Regions from separate parts of the Homo sapiens genome. Here all the other regions are linked to region 2. Evidence: promoter capture Hi-C in 16 types of primary human blood cells and fetal thymus (Javierre and others, 2016). All regions are on one chromosome and are shown on one strand. Each heading gives the region's core, a stretch centred on a gene start or on the middle of the fragment in contact. The rest is flanking DNA. Distances are from core to core; before and after follow the strand shown. Region 1 has its middle 25 kb from the start of GPR137B. Region 2 holds the start of MTR (5-methyltetrahydrofolate-homocysteine methyltransferase). Region 3 has its middle 3.1 kb from the start of GPR137B. Region 4 has its middle 3.7 kb from the start of NID1. Region 5 overlaps ERO1B (endoplasmic reticulum oxidoreductase 1 beta). Region 6 has its middle 34 kb from the start of NID1.

What was found. Contacts are between HindIII fragments. The CHiCAGO score rates a contact against its expected background, and 5 or more counts as called.
Region 1: a contact is called between a fragment that was not itself captured here and the fragment with the promoter of MTR in region 2, in 2 of 17 cell types (naive CD4 T cells and non-activated CD4 T cells). The highest score is 5.8, in naive CD4 T cells.
Region 3: a fragment that was not itself captured here is called in contact with the fragment with the promoter of MTR in region 2 in 3 of 17 cell types (activated CD4 T cells, naive CD8 T cells and total CD4 T cells); the score reaches 8.3 in activated CD4 T cells.
Region 4: a contact is called between a fragment that was not itself captured here and the fragment with the promoter of MTR in region 2, in 5 of 17 cell types (naive B cells, fetal thymus, total B cells and 2 more). The highest score is 6.6, in naive B cells.
Region 5: a fragment that was not itself captured here is called in contact with the fragment with the promoter of MTR in region 2 in 3 of 17 cell types (total B cells, naive CD4 T cells and neutrophils); the score reaches 6.5 in total B cells.
Region 6: a fragment that was not itself captured here is called in contact with the fragment with the promoter of MTR in region 2 in 1 of 17 cell types (total CD4 T cells); the score reaches 5.3 in total CD4 T cells.

The regions. Positions count from the first base shown.
Region 1 is chr1:236,115,561-236,120,161 of GRCh38, reverse strand. No RefSeq gene overlaps it. Among named protein-coding and RNA genes, the nearest start is that of GPR137B, 25 kb to the left of the region's middle. The HindIII fragment of the contact is 221 bases long and covers 1,876-2,096 here.
Region 2 is chr1:236,791,710-236,796,663 of GRCh38, reverse strand. It overlaps MTR (5-methyltetrahydrofolate-homocysteine methyltransferase), which reads right to left and starts at 1,372. Exons shown (of 33, transcript NM_000254.3): 1 at 927-1,372. The coding sequence starts at 960. RefSeq lists enhancers at 767-956, 1,057-1,346. The HindIII fragment of the contact is 5,693 bases long and covers 1-2,312 here.
Region 3 is chr1:236,136,963-236,141,879 of GRCh38, reverse strand. No RefSeq gene overlaps it. Among named protein-coding and RNA genes, the nearest start is that of GPR137B, 3.1 kb to the left of the region's middle. The HindIII fragment of the contact is 1,934 bases long and covers 2,698-4,631 here.
Region 4 is chr1:236,066,500-236,071,095 of GRCh38, reverse strand. No RefSeq gene overlaps it. Among named protein-coding and RNA genes, the nearest start is that of NID1, 3.7 kb to the right of the region's middle. The HindIII fragment of the contact is 2,633 bases long and covers 1,114-3,746 here.
Region 5 is chr1:236,273,975-236,278,633 of GRCh38, reverse strand. All of the region lies in intron 1 of ERO1B (endoplasmic reticulum oxidoreductase 1 beta), which reads left to right. Among named protein-coding and RNA genes, the nearest start is that of ERO1B, 5.7 kb to the left of the region's middle. The HindIII fragment of the contact is 1,346 bases long and covers 2,259-3,604 here.
Region 6 is chr1:236,096,405-236,101,290 of GRCh38, reverse strand. No RefSeq gene overlaps it. Among named protein-coding and RNA genes, the nearest start is that of NID1, 34 kb to the right of the region's middle. RefSeq lists enhancers at 3,535-4,037, 3,768-4,062, 4,038-4,541, 3,488-4,687. The HindIII fragment of the contact is 9,622 bases long and covers 1-4,886 here.

The DNA of each region.
Region 1 (4,601 bases), core at 737-3,236, 680 kb after region 2:
CAGAGACTGCGTACATTTCCTCTAAGGCTTTGTCACCCCGTGAGGTCCCTCAGTAGAAAGGATGTTTACATAGTGGGAAGGGTCAGAACTTTCCAAGACCTGATGTCCAGTCCTTACTCTGCCCCTTACTGATTTTCACTCCATCGAGACAATGATCTCTTTTCTAGAGCAGCGCACATTTATTTATTCATTGTCCAAATATAAGGTACACTAAGCACTGAGACATAAAGAGGACAAGCAAGACCTCCCCGACGCCCCTACCCCTGCTTCCAGGACCTTGCTCTGTTGTGGAGACAGATGGGCACACGGGCAACTACATCATATGTTCTAGGATAAAGCGACCATGTATGCAGAGACAGGGAGGCATGAGGCAGCCTGGGCTTCCAGCACTGGGACTGCAGACGGTTCTACTGCAGACTGTAAAGGGGTGGAGTGGGATGGGGATATTGTTAGAGGTCACCAGGGGCCAGATGACAAGGGACATCCTATATCTAACTAAAGAGGTTAGATGTTATCATGTCAGCTCAGGCCGCCCTTGTAGACTTGAGGGCAGGATCACACTTTCCTGGTAGAAAGATCGTAGTTGTCTAATTAGCAAGGCCAGAGGCAGGCAAACCAGGCAAGTGCTTATTGAAACGTTGCAGGGAGTGAGGATGAGTTCCTGAGGCAGGAGAAGGAGAAGCCTGAAGAAAAGAACCTGCTTGAGTCCAGGAGTTCGAGACCAGCCTGGGCAACATAGCGAGACCCTGTCTCTATCTAAAAAATAAAATAAAATAAAAAGGGGAGACTAATTTAAAAACATGAAAAGAGGCCGGGTGGTAGCTCACGCCTGTAATCCCAGCTACTTGAGAGGCTGAGGCAGGAAAATCGCTTGAGCCAGGGAGGTGGAGGTTGCAGTGAGCCGAGATCACGCCATTGCACTCCAGCCTGGGTGACAGAGCGAGACTCCGTCTCAAAACATAAAAACATGAAAAGGGGCCAGGCACAGTGGCTTACGCCTGTAATCCCAGCACTTTGGGAGGCCGAGGCCCGCAGATCAACTGAGGTCAGGAGTTCAAGGCCAGCCTGGCCAATGTGGTGAAACCCCATCTCTTACTAAAAATACAAAAATTTAGCCTGGCGGGTTGGTGAGCGCTTGTAATCCCAGCTACTCGGGAGACTGAGGCAGGAGAATTACTTGAACCAGGGAGGTGGAGGTTGCAGTGAGCCGAGACCTACCCCTTACTGATTTTCACTCCATTGAGACAATGATCTCTTTTCTAGAGCAGCGCACATTTATTTATTCATTGTCCAAATATAAGGTACACTAAGCACTGAGACATAAAGAGGACAAGCAAGACCTCCCCCACGCCCCCGACCTCTGCTTCCAGGACCTTGCTCTGTTGTGGAGACAGATGGGCACACAGGCAGCTACATCATAAGTTCTAGGATAAAGCAACTGCTGTCCAGCCTAGGAAACAGAGCGAGACTCCGTCTCAAAACAACAAAAAGAAACAAAACAATCAAACAGAAAAACATGAAAAGAAAAGGACAAGAAAACACCCAAGAATTAGTAGTAGGAAACTCAAGACAGAGAGTATTATGGAAACCTGGGGAGGAGATAATTTCTAAGAGAGATTGGAAAACAAGATTGTCAAATGCTGCAGACCAGAAACAAGACAAGACCAGGAAGCAGCCCATGAAACTCAGCCCCCAGGAGGCCTTTGACAGCCTGAAGGGAGTCAGTTCCAGGACAGCCACGGGCAAAAGCCAGAGTGCAAGTGTTAAAGAGAAAACACAAAAGCAAGGTAAGGAAGAAAGCCTCAGTTTCCTCACCTGACGATGAGGACGGCAATAAAATGTTATGAGACTATGGATTCAAAAGCTTCAAAAGCTTACCCACGGATGATTAAGAAGTTCCGGAGCTGGATGGTGGTGACAGTTGCAACGACATCGTGAAGGGACTTAAAGGCACTGGATTTTACACTTAAAATGATTTAAATAATACATTTTGCCTTATGTATATCACCCCACTGAATTGTACACTTAAAATGATTTAAATGATACATTTTGTCTTATGTATATTTTACTGCAATTTTTAAAGGGGAAGAAAAGCTTACAGAAAATGGCAGTGTTCTGTGCAGGTGTTGTTTATTTATTTAGAAGGCTAAGAAGGAGAGCTCGTGCTGAAAGCTTGGGAGAGGTAAGGGGCTGAATGATCAGGAGTTTCAGGTGTGGGGAAAGCGCAGAGGAAAGGAGGCCACACCCCGCTCAGGTAACAGGTCCAGGCTGATCCCTGATAGGTGTCGTAAGATATCAGAGTCAGAACTGACTGTGGCCCCGCAATCGAAGTGTCTTATTTTGCCAGGGAGGCTAAAGGGAGAAGGGGAGGCAGCGACTTCTCAGAAGCAGCACCGCCATCCTCACCTAGGTATAGGGTCCTCTGAGGACCAAATGAGAAACTGCTTGTGAAAACCCTGGGTGAAATACTGCATACTAGAGGATCAGGAGGTAGACTACCATCAGCGTCCCCCGACCTTACAATGTTGCATTGTAGTAATTAATACAATATGAAATCATTTTTATGTTATTGAGAAGAATTTGGAAAATATAGAAAACCATGGAATAAAATTAAAAATAATCATTGTTGGCCAGGCGCAATGGCTCACACCTGTAATCCCAGCACTTTGGGAGGCCGAGGTGGGCGGATCATGAGGTCTAGGAGTTTGAGACCAGCCTGGCCAATATGGTGAAACCCCGTCTCTACTAAAAATACAAAAATTACCCGGACGAGGTGGCTCGTGCCTGAAGTCCCAGCTACTCGGGAGGCTGAAGCAGAAGAATCACTTGAACCCGGGAGATGGAGGTTGCAGTGAGCCGAGATGGTGCCACTGCACTCCAGCCTGAGTGACAGAGCGAGACTCCATCTCAAAAATAAAAAATAACCATTGTCTCTCAACTTGACACTTTTTTTTTTCTTTCTGGAGACAGGGTCCTGCTCTTTTGCCCAGGCTGGAGTGCAGTGGTGAAATCATGACTCACTGCAAACTCTGCCTCCTGGGCTCAAGCAATCCTCCCACTGCAGCCTCCCTAGTAGCTGGAATCACAGGTGTGCACCATCATATCTGGCTAATTTTTATAGTTTTTGTAGAGACAAGGTTTTGCCATGTTGCTCAGGCTGGTATCGAGCCCCTGGGCTCAAGCGATTTGCCCACCTCGGCCTCGAAAAGTGTTGGGATTACAGGCATGAGCCACCCTGCCTGGCCATGATAACCTGAACAATTTGATAATGTGACTTTCAAATAACTTTTCTTATTATAGCTTCATACTCATATTCATATTCATAATTAAAAATCTGGAAAATACAGAAAAGTATAAAGAAGCAGATATGCATTCCTGGTAACCCCACAGTTTATATGTATTATACCAGACTTACTGATAGTCTTTCTGTAAATGCCCTTTTAAAAATTATGGTATATTGGCCAAGTGTGGTGGATTATGCCTGCAATCCCAGCACTTAGGGAGGCTGAGGTGGGTGGATCACCTGAGGTCAGGACTTCGAGACCAGCCTGACCAATATGGTGAAACCCCATCTCTACTAAATACAAAACATTAGCCAGGTGTGGTAGTGCATGCCTGTAATCCCAGCTACTCAGGAGGCTGAGGCAGAAGAATCGCTTGAACCTGGGAAGCAGAGGTTGCAGAGAGCCGAGATGACACCATTGCACTCCAGCCTGGGCAACAAGAGCAAAACTCCATCTCAAACAAACAAACAAACAAAAACAGTATATTTTACATAACCTATTCCTTCCACTAAATATAGCATGAATATTTTCTCATATTATGGAATATTCTTTTAAAACATTATTGTAAATGACTATATAGTATACCATCTTGCACATGTAAAATTCTTATAAAGAGTTGTTTTAAGTTTTCAAGAGACAAATGAAATATATTTGCTTTTTAAAATTAATTATAATGGTTCCATGCAGCACACATAGGAAAATTCAGAAACAGAAAAAAACCGGAGCTGGGTGCGGTGGCTCACACCTGTAATCCTAGCACTTTGGGAGGCCAAGGTGGGCAGATCACCTAAGGTTGGGAGTTCGAGACCAGCCTGACCAACATGGAGAAACCCCGTCTCAACTAAAAATACAAAAATTAACCAGACCTGGTGGCACATGCCTGTAATCCCAGCTACTTGGGAGGCCGAGGCAGGAGAATCGCTTGAACCCAAGAGGCGGTGGTTGTGCTGAGCCAAGATCACGCCATTGCACTCCAGCCGGGGAAACAAGAGCGAAACTCCGTCTCCAAAAAAAAAAAAAAAGAAAGAAAAAGAAAAGAAAAAGAAAAAACCCCACTTGCAATCCTACCTTTTTTTTTTTAAATGCATGTCTTATTCTATACACAAATCAACACACACGTATATATGCCTTTTTTTTTTTTCTCTGAGATGGAGTTCTGCTCTTGTTGCCCAGGCTGGAATGCAATGGCACAATCTTGGCTCACTGCAACCTCCATCTCCCAGGTTCAAGTGATTCTCCTGCCTCAGCCTCCCGAGTAGCTGGGATTACAGGCACCCACCACCACACCTGGCTAATTTTTGTATTTTTAGTAGAGAC
Region 2 (4,954 bases), core at 123-2,622:
TCCACTAGTTTCAAGAACAATTATATCAGTCCCGTTATCAGAACCCAAGAATCAAGAGAGTCACCGGTTAACCTCTGATAAATTTCCTTGTGCGTTACGAATTTAGTATTCCCCCTCTTCCTGAAGCTAAACATCCCCACTATGTGATAGGATATTTACTGTTTTGTACTTATCACTAATTCTCGTTTCTACATCTCCTCACCCGTTTTTACGGGTGTATTTGTCCTCAAATTATAATCAGGCATGACCTTAGAGATCTAGAGCTCGTTATAAAGCTAACATTACGTTCAGTTCTCGTGCTAAACTAGCTTTTTCTCACTGTTGATCCCAGGGCCACCAACATCAGAATCGCTTGAAATTACTACCTCCCATTTCGGTATCTGGAGGTGGGGTCTGCTCATCTATTTTAACATAGTGAGTCTATGCATATTGCAGTTTTGCAGCAGCGTGCGTAGAAGCAGAAAATAAAAAGTTCCATGTAGTAGTTTTAAATAGTTCTCTGAGTTTCCTCGTCTGTCTCTCCGCGCCTGAACTTTCTTTCGCAGTAGGTGCGCAATACATATTTACGAATAAGCGTCACACCATGCAAAAAAAAAAACTTCCAGAGGGCCCAGCTGGTTTATGCTGCGTGGAACTGGAAAGTTTAGTTACTGTGACGTTAAGAATGTGTTTCGGGGGCGAGGGGAGGACGCTTTTTGCAGGTTTTGATGGCTTGCCTGGGGAGAAAGAGGTGAAGGTCGGACAAAGAGTGGAGCAAAACACGTAGCCCTCCGGGCTCCTGCGCTAAGTTCTAAAGGTGCCGCCCACACGCGGGGAAACACCGCCGGGCGTCTCCCGCCGCAGAAGGGAATCGCCCCAGGGATTAGGAGGCCACAGCACGAGTTAAGAAACACAACCCAACCACGCAGACGGGGTCGCAGCGTTACCGGGTTGCGACAGGTCTTGGAGCGCGGGTGACATGTTGTCGAGTCTCCTCCTTGCGCAGAGGGCGCGGCAGAGAAGACGTGCTCTCCACAGGTGACGACGGCCAAGGGCCACGCCAGCCAGCGCCAGGCGAGCCTGCCACACAAGGCCCGGGTCTTTTGACGCCTCCCGTTGGCTCGCGTCGCGGGGGGACTGCGGACCCCGAAAGCCCGCAGCGCCCTAGGGCCTCTCTCGGGGCTGGGCGCGGCAACTGCTGGAGCACGTGCTTTCTTCCCGGGTACCCGGCCAGTCCTTGGTGTCGGCCTAGCAGCCAGACACGCGCGGCCAGAGGCGGAGTCGCGGGACGGCACGGAAAAGGACCCAAGAGAAAACCGGCAGAGGAGGACGACGTGACATCCGGCTCTGAGCCCCGCAGACATTTAGAACCTTTCAGAGCGCGGTTAGTTCTGCGCTCAATCTATCCTCGGCGTGGGAGGTCCCGCCCCTTCCGGCCTGTGATTGGTCTGCCCGAGCTCCTCGCAGCCGCATTGGCTGTCAATATCAACCAATCACCTGCTGTTTAGCCCCGGGGCTCTCTGGGAGATGTAGTCCCGCTCCCCAGTTTCCCGCGGGAGCTTTTCGCGTCTCTGTGTGCCCAGGATCCGGAAGTGTAAGCCTAAGTGGCCCCTCTAAGGAAAAGTCACAGCGCCAAGTTCGTGCTGATCTCGACACGCTGTGTGGTGTCGAGCCTGAAATTTTAGTTCCGTTTTGCTGTTGACTTGCGCTGGGCAAGACAGTTAACCTCTCAGTCTCCACACTCTACAAACAAGAATGATAGGATGGTAGTAATTAGAATTTTTTAGGGTTGTAGTAGGCGTTAAATGAGATCGTTTGACCGCGCTATGAAAACTCTGAATTACCATATGGGGGTGTTAATTGTAACTTATTGACAGTAAACATATATTGAGCACCTACTATGTGTCAGGCATTGGGGCACACACTTGGAATGCAAAATCAGACAAGCTACATCGCACCCTCACGTCCTTGGAGGAGGAACTCACAACCTAGTTAGATTAATAATTGAACAGGGAAAAAAGAACCACATACATTTTAAAAGAGCTAGAGTATTCAAAGGGGCCAGGGAAAGGTTTCAAAGAAGAATCTGGGTCCTGAAGGAAGAGTGGTACCAGGTAAGGTTGTTCCAGTCAGGAGAAGCTCCCTGTGTACAACACAGCACTTTAGGGAATTCTAAAATAAAGGGCAGCTCTGTAAGGCCGAGCATGGTAGATGTGAGAAAAAGCAAATTCATCTAGAAAAATCTCTGTAAGGCTGAGCATGGTAGATGTAAGGAAAAGCAAATGCATCCAGAAAAATAAAAACTATAACCAAATTATGACATTTACTAAGCTTTAAAAAAGGCACAAATTTGCATGCCATTCTCATTTTATTGTATGTAATTATACCTCAATTTTGAAGATTTGAAAAATTATTATAATGCGTATCACATTCTTACCAAGACCATCTTACCAAAGATGGTCTTACTTGGAAGGTGGGGGGAATGGAGTAGGTGAGAGAGAATGCAACAAAGAAGGGAGGGAGGAATGAGATGGCCCTAAATAGCCAAAAATCTTAAGATTATAAGGGCTAGGGTGAGAGTAGGTGAGGGATAAACGACTACACATTGGGTGCAGTGTCCACTGCCTAGGTGATGGGTGCACCAAACTCTCAAATCACCACTAAAGAACTTATTCATGTAACCAAACACCACCTGCTCCCCAAAAACCTATTGAAATAAATAAGTTAAAAAAAAAGAAGAAGAAAAGGAGGAAAGAAAAAAAAGCAAGGTCTTCTATGCTGAACTTATTAAATTATTTATCCAGGCTTGATAAATCATGATGGTTTTCTCATATTTATTATTATGTTTATTCATTTCTCAACTCCTGAGTTTTTATCTGCAAAAAAAGAAGTAGTGAAATTTAACTGTGTAAAGATGCACCTGTCTAAAAAAAAAAAAAAAAGATTATAAGGGCTAGTTGTTTGTTTGTTTGAGACGGAGTCTCACTCTGTCGCACAGTCTGGAGCGCACTGGCACGATCTTGGCTCAGCTCACTGCAACCTCCGCCTCCCGGGTTGAAGCTAGTTTTTTAATTATCATGTATCCCTCAAAGTTTGTTGACGTGTTTCTTGAAAAATGATCTTTCAGGCACCTAGTCGGCAACTGTCCCCCATTCACATTCTCTTACTGGAAATTCCAGGAGTTGTGTGCCAGTCCCTGTTTGATGCAAGTCATCAAAGTTTACTCTCTCAGCTAAAACTGACCAAATTCTGTATTTCTTAAAGTCGTAAAAGAGTAACAAATAAGATTAGAGGAATACATAGTGCCTAAAGGGGCAGTGAATTTCTAGTACAAAAACGCGATTTACAGTTCCAAGAATACTGTATGGGTTGCAATGTGTCCCCCTCAAAGATATGTTGAAGCCCTAACTTCCAGTGCTTCAGAATATGACCCTATTTGGGCCGGGTGCAGTGGCTCACACCCGCAATCCCAGCACTTTGGGAGGCCGAGACTGGTGGATCGCTTGAGGCCAGGAGTTCGAGACCAGCCTGGGCAATATGGTGAAACCCCATCTCTGCTAAAAATACAAAAATTAACCAGGCGTGGTGGCTCACATCTGTAATCCCAGCACTTTGGGAGGCTGAGGTGGGCGGATCACCTGAGGTCGGGTGTTCGAGACCAGCCTGCCCAACATGGAGAAACGCCGTCTCTACTAAAAATACAAAATTAGCCGGGTGTGGTGGTGCATGCCTGTAATCCCAGCTATTCGAGAGGCCGAGGCAGGAGAATCACTTGAACCCGGGAGGGGGAGGTTGCAGTGAACCGAGATTGTGCCATTGCACTCCAGCCTGGGCAACAAGAGTGAAACTCCGTCTCAAAAAAAAAGAAAGAAAAAAAGAAAAGAAAAAGAAAAACACAAAAATTAGCCGAGTGTGGTGGCACATGCCTGTAATCCCAGCTACTGGAGGCAGAGGTGGGAGAATCGCTTGAACCTGGCAGGGTGAAGGTTGCAGTGAGTGGAGATTGAGCCACTACACTCCAGCCTGGGCAACAGAGAGATACTCAGACTCAAAAAAAAAAAAAAAAAAAAAAAGAATATGACCTTAATGACCCTATTTGGAAATAGGTTTGTTGCAGGTTAGTTTAGTTATGAGATCATCATCCAGCGTAGCTGGTGTCCTTATGAGAAGGGGAGATACACGAGGAGAAAAGAGCCACTTGCCAACAAAGGTGGAGACTGGAGGGAAGCACCTGCAAACCAGGGAACTCCAAGGATTGCCAGCAGACATCCAAATCTAGAAGAGACAAGAAAGGGTTCTCCCTTGTAGGTTTCAGAAAAAGCATTACTCTGCCTACACCTCAATTTGGGACCTCTTGCTTCCAGAACTGTCAGGTAATAAATTTCTGTTGTTTTAAGCCACTCAGTTTTTGTACTTCCTCGGAAACTCTAAAGCAATCCTTGGAAACTAATACAACTATATCTGTGGATGGGCTGGGACTAACGAGGGTCTCTATCTCTGTAGGAGAGAACCTGCTATTTTAAGTTGGTGATAGCCTGCTAGCCTGCTTTTTTCCCCCTCATTAAGCTCATTCTCATTAAACTCATCCAACACAAACCCATTGTTTAGAGGTTAGGGTCCAAACAACCTCTTGGTGATTTGGGACTTCTTTCCCTGTGGATTTGTCTTCATAGATAGAAGTGGAGATCAGTGAACCTAAATATCCAACTCCTACTGTATAGCAGTAGCAAATTGACATTCCAGCTTTATGCATTATTCTCTGGTCTTGGTGGTTGTGTCAAACCCATTAGGTGGCTCTTTGTGTCCTGCTAGTCAAGAGTCTTGCAAATATAAACTATGGGCCAGATCTGGAACAAGGATGTACTACTTCTGGAGTCTACTGGGGTGACCATGGGTTTTCCCCCAGAAGATCCCTGTCACAAAGGTGAGCCCCGCTATTTCCTTCCCTCAAATCCCTTCATAGTGTTGTTGACAA
Region 3 (4,917 bases), core at 2,415-4,914, 660 kb after region 2:
ACTGGCCGGCGTCTGGAATGATGTTTATTTCTAAATGCAGACATGCCAAAGACAGGGTTCGTATTTTTGAGGTCAAATTTGTATACTGAGTGAGGAAATAGACGGTGCCTGCGGCTGCTGCCTCCTCTGGGATGCAAGCTGGGCTGTTTTCTCCCGGAGAGCCTCACGCGCTCCCAGCGCCTCACCTCCCAGCGATGTAGCCGGTGCCGGGAGGCGCGCGGGCCGCGGGTCAGTGGATGGAGCCCACTGGGCTTCAGAGAGAAGTGGGGCAGCTGACGGCACACGGCCCCCCTTGTCCGATCCAACCCATGCCGAAGGAGGGTCTGTCCCCGCCACCCGAGAGCCCTTCTCTTTTGCTTTTGCTGAGCAGCTCGCTCCTCGAGGCTGTACAGCGACTTAGTCTTTGCCCCGGGGCACCACGCCACCCTTGTCTTGGGAGAGCTGGGGAGTGCTCTGGGAAAAGAGGGAAAGCCGGGCGCCCTCTGGAAACATTGCTGGGCAAGCGGTTCTGGTAAACAGAAGAAACTCGGATTTCCGAGGCTCCAGTAATTGTGATTTCTTTTCTTACTCCACTTCGTGCCTAATTGTGTGTTCTTTTTCCAAAAGACGGCCTGGCATATCCAGAATCCACCCTAGCTTTTGCTCAGAATTACTTAGTGGTTACAGCGCTCCCAGCGTATTCCAGGTGGTTCACTGGGGCCAAGTGTGCCTTTGGCGTGGAGCTCCTTTTCCAGTTTTTCTATCCTTTCCCTCTCTCCCTATCGCTATTTCAAGAGGAAATACGGAATTGGGCTCCACGCCTCTGATCTCGTTCCCCTCAATCCCCGTTCTGAACAGCGCAAGTGGAATGATGGAATGATCGCTCTAAAGAACACCTGGCCACTTTACTCCCGTGCTTAAATGCCCTTCCCTTGCTCCTCATAGTTCTGGGGTTAGAGTCTAAACTCCTACCCTAGCTTACCTCCCTGCCTTATCTCTTCCAAGGTGTTAAGCAGTGTTAACACCTCCTGACTCCCCTAGACTAAGAAAATTCTGCCCTTTCCTCCAACAGCTGGTCCTTCCTAGCTATCCATGAGGGTGTAACTTCCTGCAGAGAGCCTCTCCAGAACTCTCCACCCACCAAACTCTCAGGATTAGGCTAGGTGTTTCACCTGTGTGCTTCCCTAATATCCTTGCCTGATTGTTAGTTTCCCCCGCAACACACTTATTTATGTGTCCTTATGATAGAAACTAGGCTTGTTTACCAGTCTCTCCCCTGGCACATTGGAAAAGCATCCGTATACATTTTATTACACTGAAGGAATATTGTTTGTCAACAGAGGTCCAGACTCTGATATTTCTCCCTCCAGTGTGCATGGATTCTACCTCATGATCCAGGAGGGCTACTGGCTCTCCAGACATTGAGTCCACATCCCAGGCCAGCGTTAGGAGGAACAGGGGAAGACTAAAGAGCACTTGTTTTCTCCTGTTTCTGGAGCCTTCCCAGAAAGACCACATAATGCATCCACTTTTAGCTCATTGCTAGGACTTAATTACCCTAGCAAGCTGGCTACAAGAGATTGGGAAACGTAGTTTTAGTCCACGTGGCATTGTACACAGCTGAAAGCCATGGTTCTGTAATTATGGATGAAGGGGCGAATGGATTTAGGAAAAACTAGCATCTTTATCATGACTTCAAAGCAGACAAAAAGAATGCCAGATGGCTACAACAGTTCACCTCTTTGACTACCTAGTGTCAAATGTTTCTTATCATCTTTACAATTCTGAAAATACAATAAAGATGCTCCCACTTAATAACCCTTGTACAATTGAAAAGCATTCCAAGCCAGGTGCTCACACCTGTAATCCCAGCACTTTGGGAGGCCAAGGCAGGTGGATCAACTGAAGTCAGGAGTTCGAGACCAGCCTGGCCAACCAAGTGAAACCCTGTTTCTACTAAAAATACAAAAATTAGCCGGGTGTGGTGGCACATGCCTGTAATCCCAGCTACTAGGGAGGCTGAGGCACAAGAATCGCTGGAACCCAGGAGGCGGAGGTTGCAGTGAGCTGAGATTACGCCACTGAGCTCCAGCCTGGGCCACAGAGTGAGACTCCATCAGGAAGGAAGGAAGGGAAGAAAGGGAAGGAAGGGAAGGAAGGAGGGAGGGAGGGGAAAAAAGGAAGGAAGGAGAAAGGAAGGAAGGAAGGAAGGAAGGAAGGAAGGAAGGAAGGAAGGAAGGAAGAAAACAGAAAAACACATTCCCTCTTTCCCCCAAAAGGATCATCATTTTCTGTGTCCAGCTCCAAGCCCAGGAGCTCTGGGTGATAGCCATTCCTCCAATTCTGTCACCATCTCATCTCAACATTCTGTATCTTACGGACTAAATTATTAAGTTATCCATCACTAGTTTGTCCTGTATAAAATAGTAGAAGAAAAAAATGTAAAGGAAAGGAGAATTCATTATTAGGTTGGCGCCAAAGTAATTGTGGCTTTTTGCAATTAAAAGTAATGACAAAAACCACAATTACTTTTGCATCAATTTATAAAATACATACATATGACACAGCAAGAAAAAAATATAAGTTAGAGTTGTTGTTTTTCTGACTGGTCATAAAGCTGTAATTGCTCTCCTTAATGGACGTTACAAAATTTCCCTTTCCCTTCATCAGGGATCTCAGCTAGTCAGGGGTAGCCCTGATTTCTGAGGAATCTAAGCTTGTTAATGTTTGCCACTGGACATGCCAGCAGCAAGAGGCACTACCATGATTGAATTCTGTCTATTCACCTTTTATTGCTCATCATATAACAGCAACTCTACTTCCTCTTAATAGTTACTGTCATCACAGCCAACACCATCATACTATTTTTTACAATTCACCCACTGGCATGAGGAGTCTGAAATAGCCAGGGTCTCAACTTTTATTTCACTTAAACCACACTTGAATCTCCTGGGGTAGAAGAGTTCCTCCTTGGTTACTAAGACCTTCAAACTAGCCAAGCCTAGAGGCGAAGGAACGGGAAACAAAAAAATTTGCAAGTAAGTCACTGAGTGTTAGTGAAAGGTGCCATTCTCTTGGTTCCTGTAGCCATGTATCCTGACTGCAGGACAAATAGCACGATATGTCAGCTTTGGGTTCAGAAGAAATTCTATATATTATAGGACACCAATGCTACCTTTCTGTGCATTGTTGTCCTGCAGGCACAATAACTAAGCCTACAATTGGTCATTCCACCACTGGATAAGGCCAGCTGCTACTTGAGGGACAGAAATTAGCCTACCACGTTTCTTCTTTTAGTATAAAGTGAGGTCCTTGGTCAGAGCAATATTGTATAGGATACCATGATGATGAGCAATGCATTCAGAAAGTCCCGGGACAATAACGCAGGCACAGGAGGCAAAGAAAGTCAGTCCAAGTTCAGAAACATTGTCTATTACAGCAAGGACAAATTGCTGATATCCTACGTGATTAAAGAGGTCTATATAATCTGCTTTCAGGTGGCTGTCTAGGACTTCCCCTGAGTTTGAAACCTCTTGAAAGGCTCAGAGTTGGCTGGCGATACTCATGAAAAGCCAGGTCAGCCTTGGTGGGGAAGTCCAGATTGTTACAAAATGGATCAGTCAGTCCCTGCCTGCATGGTCACTGTGTCCATGAGCCCATTGAATAAGCAGTGGGCTAACTGGGGACAGAAGATGTCTTCCATACCCAGGGCAGGTAGACATGTCCACCTGAATGCTGAGAGCCTCCAGTAGAGCTGGGTGTTTTGGGGAACCTGACTTGGTGGCTTGATGGATCAAAATAACATGCAGCTCAAGACGGGCAGCTCAGACTCCATGGTAATCTGCCTTCTTGATGAGACATTCAGTCTCTTCCACAGCCCAGGAGCAAGCCATCTCTTTCTCTCAAAAGAAAAATAGTTATTTGACAAATAAGGCATGTATGTGTTCCCAAACCCTTATAACTGACACTGTGATTCTCCTAACAGGGCTTGTCACAGGTAATGTACACCTCTCCAATCTGCCATTGACACTTTGAGCACCGTTAGATCCACGGAGTCATGGATGACAAAACAGATGGCATTGCAGCCTGAACCAAATGGAGCATCTCCTCTGCCTTGAGCCCCTTCTCAAAATTAGCTCCCTTTTGAGACACCCCATAAGTGGGTCAGAGAAGCCCACTAATGTGACAAATATTGCTTCCATAAATAGGACCTCAAAGCATTACGCTTCTGCTTCCTGTAGGAGGCGGTGTCAGCTGTAATATCTCATCCTTCATTTTGGAGGAGCTATCTCAACCTAGACTCCCTGAAATGCTTCCGTGAGGTCACAGGCCCCTGTAGACTCATGAGATTTACATGTTTCTTACATGCCTAGAATAACTGCCATCTCTGCCTTGTGGGTCCTCATAGCATGATGTCATTAATATAGTATCACTGTGATGTCCAAAAAACATTAAAATGATTAAGAGTTCTGAAGACCAAATTGTGGCATGAAGCCAGAGTTGACCTAACCCTGAAGGAGATAGGAAAGTATCCTTACTAGATGAGACAAAGTGGCTTTTGGAGTTCTTCACTTATTGGGAATGAGAAAAAAACCATTTTCCTCCAGAGGCTGTGTGGGCTTGCTGTATTGAAGTCACCACCATATGAAGCTTATGATTACCTGTTTTATTTTCCAAGACCCCTCCATCTGTGTACCAACTGAACAGTTAGATGAAAAAGTGATGGGAGTTTACCACTTCTTTTTTTTTTTTTTTTGAGATGGAGTCTCGCTCTGTTGCCCAGGCTGGCATGCAATGGCGCGATCTCGGCTCACTGCAACCTCTGCCTCCCGGGTTCAAGCAATTCTCTTACCTCAGCCTCCCGAGTAGCTGGGATTACAGGCGCCCACCACCACGCCTGGCTAATTTTTTTGTATTTTTAGTAGAGACGGGGTTTCA
Region 4 (4,596 bases), core at 1,181-3,680, 730 kb after region 2:
GAAAAGAAAACCTAGTAATTTTACAGTGGAGAAATTAGGAGGTATAAATGTACCAGGTGATCAAAGTAAACACTATCAGCATTAGGACAAATGGACATGTTCCTCCTGATATGTTGCACTAGGAAGGACACAATATCACTTCTCTGTTACTGCTGCCAAAATTTATGCAAAATCTGATCTAATTATGAAGGAAACACCAGACAAACCCAAACTGAGGGACAGCCTACAAAATAACTGGTCTGTCCTCTTAAAAAATGTCAAGGGCCAGGCTCAATGGCTTGTCCCTGTAGTCCAGCTACTAGAGAGGCTATGGTGAGAGGATCATTTGAGTCCAGGAGTTTGAGGCTATAGCATGCTGTGATCACATCTGTGAATAGCCACTGCACTCCAGCCTCGGCATAGCTAGATCTCATCTCTAAAAAAAAAGTTAAGGTCATGAAAGATCAGGAATGACTGAGGAACTCTTTCAAGTTGAAGAAGACTGAAAGTGCATGACAACTGAATGCAGTTTGTAATCTGGTATTTTCTTTTGCTATTAAAAGACATTATATTGACATCTGGTGAACTCTGAATAAGAGCTGTCAATTAGATTATAGTATGATATCAATGTTAATTTCCTTATTTTGGCAATTGTGTTATGGCTAGGTGAGAGAATGTTCTAGTTTTAAAGAAGCATATACTTAAGCATTCAGAGGTAAAGAGGTATCATGTTTGCAACTTACCCTCAATGGTCCAGATAAAAATTTATGTATATATATATGTATCGATGTGTCTGTGTGTGTGTGCATGCATGTGTGAGTGTGTGGAGAGAGAGACAGACAGAGAGAGAGAAAGACAGAGAGAAAGCAAACATGGCAAAATGTTAATATTAAGGAAAATCTGAGTATATGGGATATGGGAATATAAGGGTATATGGAATCGTTTTGTATTATTTTTGCAATTTTTATGTAAGGTTGAAAATTACATAAATCAAGATTAAAAATTAAAATAACAACAAAAGGCAAGTGGAACCCCAGCAGTGAATGCTGGAGGTCTGATGATAATGAACCAGGAAAACGTTCATGGGAAAACAGGATGTAGAACTATAGGAATTAAACTTTACCCTGAAAAGCTTGGCATCTTCCCAAACATAGGTGGACATAATTGTGTTTTCCCAAGGTACTTTTTATCCTAATCGCCTTTGAAAACAGAATAAAGTGAACACCAAATCCTGCTTCACTCTCATCCTTTGTCAGAGTGTTTTTTTGTTTTGTTTTGTTTTGTTTTGTTTTTTGAGACAGAGTCTCGCTCTGTCGCCCAGGTTGGAGTTCAGTGGCGCGATCTAGGCTCACTGCAAGCTCCGCCTCCCGGGTTCATGCCATTCTCCTGCCTCAGCCTCCCGAGTAGCTGGGACTACAGGCGCCCGCCACCACGCCTGGCTAATTTTTTGTATTTTTTTAGTAGAGGCGGGGTTTCACCGTGTTAGCCAGGATGATCTCGATCACATGACCTCGTGATCCGCCCGCCTCGGCCTCCCAAAGTGCTGGGATTACAGGCTTGAGCCACCGCCCCCGGCCAAGGGTGTCATTTTTATCTGAGATCACAATTGAGTGTGGGTTGTTTAAAATACTCATGAATTGGCCGGGCTCGGTGGCTCACGACTGTAATTGCAGCACTTTGGGAGGCCGAGGTGGGCGGATCACGAGGTCAGGATATCAAGACCATCCTGGCTAACATGGTGAAACCCCGTCTCTACTAAAAATACAAAAAAAAAAAAAAAAAAAAAAAAAAAAAATTGGCCGGGCGTGGTGGCGGGCGCCTGTAGTCCCAGCTACTCGGTAGGCTGAGGCAGGAGAATGGCGTGAACCCAGGAGGCGGAGTTTGCAGTGAGCCGAGATCGCGCCAGTGCACTCCACGCTGGGCAACAGAGCGAGACTCCGTCTCAAATAAAATTAAAAAAAAAATTCATGAATTAGGCGAATTCCCTGGAATTGGAACACTAATACATTCACATCTATATGACATCTGGAAAATAAAAGAAAGCTCCATGGCCATACATGGTCAGTTACCAATCCTCACAGGAGAGTGAGATTAGAACAAATGCCTCCTTCAGAGCAATAGCCAATTGAGCTATTTTCCCACTCAGCTGCCTGGACTTTTGTCTGAATCGTCAGAGAGAAGAGTTACCTTGGGGCCGGGTGTGGTGGCTCACAACTGTAATCCCAGCACTTTGGGAGGCTGAGGCAGGAGGATCACCTGAGGTCAGGACTTCGAGACCAGCCTGGCCAACATGATGAAATCCCATCTCTACTAGAAATACAAAAATTAGTCGGGCGTGGTGGCATGCCTGTAATCCCAGCTACTCAGGAGACTGAGGCAGGAGAATCACCTGAAACTGGGAGGTGGAGGTGGCAGTGAGCCGAGATCACGCCACCGCACTCCAGCCTGGGTGACTGAGGGAGACTCCATCTCAAAAATCAAACACACAAAAAAAGAAAAGTTACCGTGGCTTCTTATAGACACACAGCCTGAGACCTGCTTCTTAAATTTTGTGTTTCTGCCTCATCAGGATGACAGCCATCAAGAAAAGAGTATAAATCTCAAAAGAGCAAGGTTTCATTTTTTTTTAAAGCTGGTATATTACAGAATTATGGGTACCATTGGTACTGCAGATATCAGATGATTCTTAAACATATCAGTGAGTTCTTAAATGGTTAAGAACTGTGCACATTATTAATGTGTATGCAGCATTGGGCTAGGCTCTGCGAAGTCAGGAAAACAAATAAAGCACATGGGCCTTGCCCCCAATGAGCTCTTATCCCCGAAAAACATACGAAATGACTAGAGAAAAAGACCGAATTATTATATACACTTAGAAAATGTCCAGAGCACAATATAAAAGTAAGTATTCGATGATGAATGTGTTTGGAACTACTAATTCTAAAGGAGTGACAGGGACACACTGTCCTAGTAGGAGACACAGCATCAATATTACGTCCTACAAGGACTGGGCAATGTGAGGCGAGTGCAGGGCTATAAATAGTAAATGACAGAGAATTTACCGTATATACTGGACTTACTCAGGCCAAGAGATACTGATGAAATAAAGGAGCACAAGCATGCACAGATAGATCGTGAGCATTATGTATAAACAATGGAGCAAATAGATCTTGTGGGTGGAAATAAAGGGAGAAACCTTTCCTTCCATAGATGGGCAGGATGGCGCGGCAGAAAGAATAATAGCTTTGGTGTCGGACAAACTGGATTCAAATCCTAGCTCTTTCACTACCTGTGTAAAACTGGGCAAGTTATCTAATCATTGCAAACCTTGTTTTCACTACATAGGGCTACTAGCTTGTGCAGTTATTAGTATTAAATTGAATGCTACATTAAGCATCTAGCAGAAGCAGCATTCAACAAGCGATATCTCTTGTTGGTTTGTGTATTTCTTAAAGCATCGCACTGTTATTGTTGTGTTTGTCTCCCTGATAGATTGTGAGCTTCTCAAAGAAAGGACTGTGCCTTAACGGTCTTGGCATTTTGAATTTCTAGTATAGAATCTGGCTCATGGTAGATTCTCAGTAAATATTGACATAATAAGAATCACGAAAACTGTACATTTAGGTAACAACGATGGTTTGATATTAACGGAATACTTACTTTGTGCCCAGCTAGGAGCATTTAATGAATCACCTTATCTAATCCTCACGACAATCCTTCGATTTTAACTATGAACATCCCATACAAGTGACAAGGATATTGAAGCTTAGAAACCTGCCCGTGCTTATACAGCCAGTAAATGGAGAGCCTTGACCTCAGCCAGGTTGGATTCAGGCTGTGCTGAACCAGCAAAGTAGAGAACTGCTCTCCTCCTGTAGTTGCTGAGGAAAGTCCCATGGATGGACCAATAGGAGTTTCAGAAGCTGCCTGAGTACCAAAAAGGGAGAGAATTCGTGAGAAGGGTAAGAGCATTCCAGGCACAGACTACAGCTTCAGAGACAGCTCTGATGTGTGACAGAGGCTGGGGTGGGGTTTTTTGAAGGAGGAGTGTTGAAGGCACAGGCCAAAAAAGGCCTACTGAGCTTGGGGTTTCCCTCAACCACAGGGCATGGGGAAGTCGTGGGGCCCGTGTCACGTGCGGGTGAAGATAGAGAAGAATCTCCATACAGAGATCCTGTAGCAGCTGAAACAGGCAGTGCTGGGGCCCAGAAGCCCAGAAATAGTCAGAAACACAGATGGCATAGAGTAGAGTCAGAAGTGCTTCTGGGGAGCAGGCTGGGGGCTCACAGTGCTGTATTGTTGGGAGGGAACTGAAGGAAAAGCACCATATTTGACAACAGACTGCAGGCTGCAGTAAAAGGTAGTAAACAGAGGGCACTTAATGCAGTGGTTATAAGTGGGGTCCTTGCAGCTGGAACACCTAGGGTCACTTACCGGCTCCCAGCTGCATGACCTTAGCAACATGACTTAACCTCTCTGGGCCTCTATGCCCCTTCTCTGTAAAACAGGGAAGGTCTGTTTCCTAGGGTTACTGTGAGTGCAAAATGAATGAATACTTGTAGAACACATGCTGTCTCTGATGGGTAATAAATGTTATTTCTGATGGCGAATGAATTC
Region 5 (4,659 bases), core at 1,682-4,181, 520 kb after region 2:
GCATAAAATTGAGTAATACACAGAGCCCCTCAATATATGAAAAGCCAGAAACTTAGAACTTAAATAGTGCTATACCAGTCCGTTACTCTGAGGGCTTCTCCTAAACCCTAAAGATCTTGAGCTGCTTTAGCAGTTGCATGGAGTGGAGTGGGCAAGAAATAACCCCGTGTCTGCCCAGTGAGAGGAAACTAATAGGAGCCTCCACCATAATTCATTTCTCGTTTACCCTTATATTGAGGATGTAGCTGTTTGGAGCCTGGACTTCAAACAATTACATCCTCAGTATAAGGGTAAACGAGAAATGAAACCCATTCTAAGTAAAGGGAATAAAAGAAACTTGCTGGGAGAAGCAGGGAAGAAACTTTTGAGAATTTGTAACCATGAGACAGTCCTCACACAGGTTCGCAAGCCAAATATTTATTCTGGGAAAATTCATAGCAGTCCCAAATTTGTGTGCCCTGGGTTTCCAATAAAAGCAAATATCCATCACCTCTGGAGGAATTTATTTTCAACTCAAACCTCGAAAAATTATTGAAGATGAAGTGCCAAGGAGAATAAACAGCTAGCAGTAAAATATCACAAAACACCCAAGGAAACAGGGCACCATGAATCAGATATTAGACAACAGAAACAAACACATAATGACCTTAGGTTCTGAAATTATCAGATAATTTAATATCACTATGTTTAATGTGTTCAAATAAAAAGAAACTTGAAGTATAGAAGGGAAAAAAGATTTTAAAGAGTGGCCAAAAAGATTTTAATAATAATGAATTAGAAGTTCTAGAACTGAAATTTAAAACTCGATGGATAGATTAAATAGCTGATCATATCCAGCTGAAGAAATGATTATTGAATTAGACAACCATTTCATGTCTTTTTTCTTTCTCCTTAATTCTCCATCACCTTTTCATCTATCCTTACTCTCAGTTCATACCTTACTAAAATTGGAGCAATCAGAAGAGAAATTCCACAGAGTAACCCATATCTATCCATTTACTAGTCTCTGTACCCACATATTTTGACTTCCTGTTGGTTACCATTGATGAACTGTGTGCTTTTATCAAAGGCAGCCCCTTCACTTGTATGTTAGGTCTCATTCCTTGTTTGCCGCTCATGGACATGGCTCCAGTAATCTTCTCTTTCTTTCCTGGATCATCAGTTTTTCCTTCTCAAATGGAATTTTACTGTCATCATGTATTAGTCCATTCTTTTTTTTTTTTTTTTCCTGGAGTAGAGTCTCGCTCTGTCACCCAGGCTGGAGAGCAGTGGCTCGATCTCAGTTCACTGCAACCTCTGTCTCCCAGGCTCAAGCAATTCTTATGCCTCAGCCTCCCAAGTAGCTGGGATTACAAGCTCCTGCCACAACGCCCAGCTAATTTTTGTATTTTTAGTAGAGATGGGGTTTTGCCATGTTGGCCAGGCTGGTCTCAAATTCCTGACCTCAAGTGATCTGCCTGCCTTGGCCTCCCAAAGTGCTGGGATTACAGGCGTGAGCCACTGTGCCTGGCTTAGTCCATTCTTGTATTGCTGTAAAGAACTGCCTGAGACTGGGTAATTTTTAAAGAAAAGAGATTTAATTGACTCACAGCTGTACAGGAAGCATGGCTGGCGAGGCCTCAGGAAACTTACAATCGGGGAAGTGCTGCACACTTTTAAACAACCAGATCTCATGAGAGCTCACTATCAGGAGAACAGCAAGGGGGAAGTCCGCCCCCATGATTCAAACACCTCCCACCAGGCCCCTCCCCAACACTGGGGATTATAATTTGACATGAGATTTGAGTGAAGAGATAAAGCCAGACTATATATCATAAAACATGCTGCTAATTCTACTGTTTTAAAGTTATCTTTTCATCCACATATTCCTTCTGCCTTTGCCTATTTTTTCTGTTCCCTCTAGAAAATTCAAGAGTTAGATTTAATTTATTCTTCCTTTGCTGGTTCTTCTATTTTTCAGCCCATTCTAATCAGACTTTTGCTCCTACCGCACCTCTGAAACTGCTCTTGGCAAGGTCGCCGATGTCCTCCTTGTTGCTAAGGCCAACGGTTTGTTCTTAAACCTCAGCTTTACCTGTTGGCGGCATTTTTTCACAACTCATCACTCACTCTCCTTGAAATAATTTTTATTCTGACATCCTGGATACTAAACTTTTCTGATTGTCTTCCTGTCTAGTGGACCAGTCTGTCTTAGCATTCTTTCTTTGTTCCTCCCCTGCCATTGACTGCTAATCATTTGAACCTCAGGGTTCAAAGCTTGTACTCTTTCTTCTCTTTATCTTAGTCATCTCTTCTGGTCTCTTAGCTTTAAATACCAAATGTACAGTGGACTCTCAGTGTTAGTCTCCAAGACTAGGATTCTCAGCTTTAGATCTATGTATCCAACTTCTTTTTGGACATCTCCACTTGGAGGATTAATAGATATCACAAACTTGATATAGAAACCACATTTCTGATCTTTTCCCCCAAATCTGCTTTTTCCACAGTCTTCCCCCCTTATACATAAGCTCCAGCCAAATTGGCCTGCCTGTTGTTCTTAAACATGGCAGATACATTCTTGCCTGAAAGCCTTTGTACTGTTTCTTCTACCTAGCACACACTTTTCTCGTGTATTCATATGATTCACTCTGTTAGATTTCTGCTAAAGTGTCACTTTATCTGACATCTCTTGTCTTAAATGTCCCTGACCACACAAATATAAAAGAGAAACATTCTATCCTCACCAAATTCCTGTCACCCTTTGCTTAAAACTCCCCATTGGCTTCCTGTCTCACATGGTGTCATCCAAAAATATATTTGGTCTTTATTTCTGATTGCTGACATAGAGCCCTTTAAAACCCTTGGAATTTGAGTCATAGGAGTGCCTTTTGTTACTCATAATGAGCCCCTTTCAATCACACTTGTGTTTATAGTAATGAAATGACTTAAGACGGGGACCCTACATAGATAGCCTCAGGATTGGGGGCTGGTCACCACAAAGACCCAAGTGATTAGAAAGTTGAAACTTTTGGCCCCACCAATCTGCAGGAAGGGGAGAGGTGGGTGCTGGAGATTTAGCTCCGTAAGAACTCTTGAACAACTTGATTTGATGAGCTTCCGGGTTGGGGAATACATTGACTTATTGGGAGGGTGGCATGTTGAGAGAGGCACGGAGGCTCTGCACATCCCTCTGCCTTAGTAGCTTGCCCAATGCATCTCTTCCATTTGGTTATTACTGAGTTGTATCCTTTATAATTGATAACTGTAAGTAAAGTGTCTTTCTGAGTTCTGTGAGCCATTCTGGCAAATTATCAAACCTGCAATGGAAGTGCTAGGAACCCACAATTGATAGCCAGTCAGAAGAACAAGTGGCTCAGGACCTGAGATTTGTGTCAGGAGTGGGGCCATCTTGTGGGACTCAGCCCTTAATTTGTAGGTCTGCACTGATGGTGGATAGTGTCAGAATTGAATTGTTGGACACCACCCAGTTGGTCTCAGAGTTGGAGAATTGGTTGGTGTGAGAAAATAACTCAGATTCAGTAAAAGCTAAAATCTTATAGTGGTCTAATTCTCCTTCTTGCCTATTGTATAGTCCTCCTTATTCCTCAAAAACATGGGGCAAGCTTACTGCATTAGGATCTTTGCACTCACTCCCAATGCCTGGAATGCTGTCCCCCCAGATACCTGCATGTCTTGCTCCTTGCCAAAATTTCATGACACCTTCTGTAACTGTCCTATTTTAAATGGTTAGCAGCCCCAGTTCTGCAGTCTGTTTCCAGTCCTTAGTTTTATCTATATCACTTTATTACCATCTGACATTCTGTACTTTGTTCATTCATTTTGCACCCCCTTTTCCCTATGAGAATGTAAACTCCTTGAGGGCAGAGATTTTTGTCTGTCTTTTTTTTTTCTTCTAATTTTATATCCCCAGCACTTAAAGCAGTGCAAATCTTATGTTGGGCCTCAGTAAATAGGCTGAATTAATGAATAAGTGAATGGAAGATAGATGCAAATAAATTATTCAGAATGAAATCTAAAGAGACAATGGGATAATAAATATTAAAGAGAACTTAAGATACCTGGAGAATAGAGTGAGAATGTCTAATACATCTAATTGGAGTTCTAAAAGAATATAATAGAATAGGGAAGAAGCAGTATTGATTTCTGCAGATGAGTATGAAGAAGATAACCTAACAGAAAAGTGAATCAAAGATATAAATAGACATTTTACACAAGAAGAAATATAAATGTGTCATAAAACATATGAACATTGTACCTTCTTAGTGCAAATAAGAAAAAAGATAATCTTTCATGCTAACTAGATTGGCAAAAATTAAAGCATAGATTAATATTAAATATTGATGAGGATATGGGCTGGCACAGTGGCTCACACCTGCAATCCCAGCACTTTGAGAGGCTGAGGCAGGCGGATCACTGGAGGCCAGGAGTTTGAGACCAGCCTGGCCAACATGGTGAAACGCTGTCTCTACTAAAAATACAAAAATTAGCTGGGCATGGTGGCATGTGCCTGTAGTCCCAGCTACTCGGGAGGCTGAGGCACGAGAATCACTTGAACCCAGGAAGCGGAGGTTTCAGTGAGCCAAGACTGTGATCCTGCGCTCTTGCTTGGGTGACAGAGTGAGACTCTGTCTCAAAAAAAAAAAAAAAAAAAAATAGGAT
Region 6 (4,886 bases), core at 693-3,192, 700 kb after region 2:
CTCCACATTCACACACACACTCATACTCACACTTGCACATACAGGAACAGAGGCACATCCTGAATCCCCCTCCACACCTCAGGCTTCCCAGGGCGGCCTCAGGGGCCCGGTCTCTAGCCCAAATGCCAGAAGGTGTTACTGGTGAGATCCGCTGAAGAGCAGGCCACGTGTGTACTGATGATGCTGAGACTGGCGAAGGTTTTCTCTGAAGCAAGATGAAAGAGGAGCGTTCCTTCCCACCTTGCCATCTTCTAGACTTGATTTCAGCCTTGCCGGGCCCAGGGCTGTGGGAAGCGCGGGGCCGCGCGGTGTCGCTGGCTTGGGCCAATGTGGCTGCTTTGCCAGGTTTCTAGAACCAAAAATGTTGGGGTGAATTACGGGCCTGGGAGCTACTTCTGTGTTTTCTGGGGACTCCCAGCCCTCCCAGAGGTGGGACGGTGGTCACCAAAATTGTTCAGTGGTGGAGTGTTTTGGGTTTTGTTTTGTTTTTAGGGTGTGTGGCGGTCAAAGATGGAGCAGAGTGGTGCAAAAGGCTCAAGCTCTGGAATCAAACAGATCCCAGTCTCAGTCCAGCTCTCCACCAGCTCTGCCCCCTCGAGCCAGCTCTCTGCACCCCACTTCCTCATCCATAAAATGCTGTTGATAATAGTACCTGCCTCATGTAGTAGGTGTATCAAAGGAAACTGCTGGGGATTCGTATGCTGTCTAGCACACTGGATGTACTCAATGCATATGAGCAATACTATTACTATCGTTAGGCACGAGGGAAAGAGGGAAGGAAGTCGAAGAAGACTCGGGTTTTAGACAGAGCGAGTCGGGGAAAGGTGGTGTCTTGGGCTGGATGAGGAACCCAGGCGTGCAAGTGCATTTGGGAAACCTGTGAATTCCAGTTTTGGAAGTGCTGAATTTAGGATGCCTGGGGGACATGGATGGAAGCGGCCACTGCATGTTGAGAAGAGAGACTGGGCTGGAGTTGGAGATGGGGGATTCACAGCACATAAGGGGAGGTCTGGGCCAGCAGAGGACAGGAGGTCATTTGGAAAGGGAGCTTCCAATAGGAAGAAGACAGAACCCAGAGGGCCCAGCATGCAGAGGTGGTGGGAAGAAGGAAGCCCACAGGGGTGCGGGGGATTGTTGCAGATGGAGGAGGGAGGCCATCAGAAGGGACCCTGCCGAGGGAGAGGAGACCTCAGCCAGCACCCACTGGGTGCCTCACTTCTACTGAGCAGCCTACAAAGATAGGTGAGACCCTGGCGTGGCTCTGAAGAAACTGACAGACTCTAGGAGCTCCTGCAATTCTGTTTAATTGCTTCTTTTCTTTCTTCTCTCTTCCTTATGAACAAAGACTCTTCAGTCTTTGCTTATAAGGTAGAGCCTGTGGGAGCTCAGAGGCTCAGCCCTCTGTGTAGGGGGCAGGTCTGCTGAATGCATTACGTGGGTGGGCTGGCCAGACCAGATGTCCCGAGTTGCCTTCCAGATCCACGGAGCTTCCCCCGGGGCATCATGGCACACCGCCCCAGACAGTCGGTAGTTTGAGAAGAGAGTTAAATGCTCTGTTCGGGAAGGAAGGAAGTGTTGGAGGTCTCTAGGAATGCTATGCAGCTATATTACCATCTTTGGGATAGCAAAAGTTACATGCATTTCAAATTAATTTTAAAGCATGTCTAGCTTTGCAACAAAGCCACACATGTCTAGGGCAGGCAAGAAGCTAGATTTATGCAAATCGAATGATTAAATGTAAACACGTGTTAGAGGGAGCCTGATGGCTGGGCTCGGTGGCTCATGCCTGTAATCCCAGCACTTTAGGAGGCCAAGGCGGGTGGATCACCAGAGGTCAGGAGTTCAAGACCAGCCTGTCCAACATGATGAAACCCTGTCTCTACTGAAAATACAAAAACATTAGCCGGGCATGGTGGTGTGCACCTGTATTCCCAGCTACTTGAGAGGCTGAGGCACGAGAATCACTTGAAAGCAGGAAGTAGAAGCTGCAGTGAGCTGAGATAGTGCCACTGCACTCCAGCCTGGACAATAGAGTGAGACTCTGTCTCAAAAAAAAAAAAAAAAAAAAGCCTGATGATGAATGGGGTTGATGTGCTCAATATTTGCTCACATGGCTCAGCTGGTTAGTGTGGAGCTGCACCTCATCCACCCTACTGCCTGTCAAATTCTGCTCCCATTGTGATGAAAGACAGCCCCAATGCAAATATGTAAAAGATGCTCTCTATATACCCACTTTCTCTAGTAGGGCAACTCTGTCCAACTTCTTGCCCATATTCTGATAAGAGTGCACAGATTGTGAGCACAATTTGAACAGTGACTTTTAGCACTGTGCAAGGAAATCTTGAAATGCCAGTAACATCCAGGTTAGTTAATTTATAGGTACATAATGATGAAGAGGAAGATAGTACAAGAACAAAACACAGGTCTCTTGTGCTTAATGGGCCAGGAGTTGTTTTAAGTACTTTACGTGCAATAACTTGATCCTTACAACAACCATCACAAATGAGGAAACTGAGGCAGAGGTTAGGTAACTTGCCCAAGATTGCACAGTGAATAAGTGGGGGAGGCAGGATTTGAACCCAGGCAGGCTGCCTGCCTCAGAGTCCTTTTCTTTAGATACTATGGTAGCCACATCTCTGCATGATCTCATGTGACTTGATTAGCTTAACACAGCTTTTTCAAAAACTAAAATTTCTTTATCCTCTCCCTATTCCTAGTTTCTCCTTCCTTTCTTCCTTCCTTCCTTCCCTTCCCTCCTTCCCTTCCTTTCCTTCCTTCCCTTCCTTTCCTTCCTTCCTTCCTTCCCTTCCCTTCCTTCCTTCCCTTCCTTTCCTTCCTTCCCTTCCCTTCTTTTCCCTTCCCTTCCTTTCTTCCTTTCCCTTCCTTCCTTCCCTTCCTTTCCTTCCTTCCCTTCCCTTCCCTTCCCTTCCCTTCCCTTCTTTTCCCCTTCCCTTCCTTTCTTCCTTTCTGATGGAGTCTCATTCTTTCGCCCAGGCTGGAGTGCAGTGGCACAATCTTGACTCACTGCAGCCTCCGCCTCCCAGGTTCAAGAGATTCTCCTGCCTCAGCCTCCCAAGTAGTTGGGATTACATGTGCACACCATCACACCCAGCTAATTTTTGTATTTTTAGTAGACATGGTGGGGAGGTTTCGCCATGTTGGCCAGGCTGGACTCGAACTCCTGACCTCAAGTGATACACTTGCCTCAGCCTCCCAAAGTGCTGGGATTACAAGTGTGAGCCACCGCGCCTGGCCCTATTTTCATTTCTTTCTAATAGTTAGTGCTCTCTCTATCTCCTGCACTTGCTAATTCACATATATTCTCCCTTCAAATCTGCCTTGACAGCCTTCTGTTTTCAAGGGCCTCACAGCTACCTGGTTCCTTCTCTCAAAAGTTCCCTCTTCTGCAGGTAACTTCTCACTCACTTCCCTTGGACCACCCCTCTGTCTCTGTTAGTGTGAGGTGGGTTGTGTCCAGGGCCATCCACCAGAGGAAAGGGGAGAGAAGCCATACTTCTTGGGTCCAACGGGAGTCAAGGAGATCAAGGACCAGGTGTTGAGACCCGTATTTTGGTTTGGGAGGCTACAGGCAAGGTAGAAATGGAAGGCTGTTCTTGGCCGGGCACAATGGCTCACGCCTGTAATCCCAGCACTTTGGGAGGCTGAGGCAGGTGGATCACCGGTGAATTCCACAGACACTTAAAAGCAAAAATAATAATTTGTTGAATACAGTGAGTTCTAAATTTCTCTTCAAAGAATCAGTATGTCAGTATGTTCAGTTCTTTGTTCTCCATTTTAAAGTTGAACTTCCTCGTTCTCCTCAGCCCTAGTTTCACTAAACAACCTTTTCCAACAGTTCTAATCAGTAGTTAACGTCTATTCCCCTGGTCACCTGCTCCATTCTGAGTCACCCCTGGTCACCTGCTCCATTCTGAGTCACCCCTGGTCGCCTGCTCCATTCTGAGTCACCCCTGGCCACCTGCTCCATTCTGAGTCACCCCTGGCCACCTGCTCCATTCTGAGTCACCCCTGGCCGCCTGCTCCATTCTGAGTCACCCCTGGCCGCCTGCTCCATTCTGAGTCACCCCTGGCCGCCTGCTCCATTCTGAGTCACCCCTGGCCGCCTGCTCCATTCTGAGTCACCCCTGGCCACCTGCTCCATTCTGAGTCACCCCTGGTCACCTGCTCTGACCTGAATCATCCTGAGTCACCTGTTCTGTAACCACCCTTCCCACCAAACTACTCACCCCGCCACTCTGGCTCATACCCCTGCTCTCTTTAAAGTAGCCAATCGGAATTAGCTTAGACTGTGCAGTCCAACCCTAGCCAATACGGGAACGACGCATCAGTAGGGGCTACCTGTGTCAGGAATCAGAACCCCTTCCCCTCCCTTGTTCAGGTGTGCTCTGGCCATTGCTCCATCTGCGAGTCGCACCCTTCTAGAGAAGTAAAATTGCCTTGCTGAGAAAATTAAACTTATGTTTGAGTGCTATTTCTTTTGCAGCACCAAAAATTTATTTACAACAAATTCTACACAAATTTTTCCAGAAACTGGAAATGGAGAGCTTATGTTACCCAATTTTAAGATTTACTAGAAAGATACAATAGACGTGACAGGGTGGTATTGGTAGAAGAATAGACACGAAGATCAATGGAACAGAATAAAAAGTTGAGAAACAGCTACATGGTCAATTAATTTTTGATGACGACCAACATAATTCAACATGGAAAGATGGTCTTTTTTGAAAAAGAAACATTGCTGCTTTGTGGATGAAGTGGATGTTCATACACAAAAATATCCTTAACTTTTACTTCACATCATAAAAATGTTTAACTCAGAAAGGGTCTCAGACCTAAATGTAAGAACTAAAACTATAATATTTTTA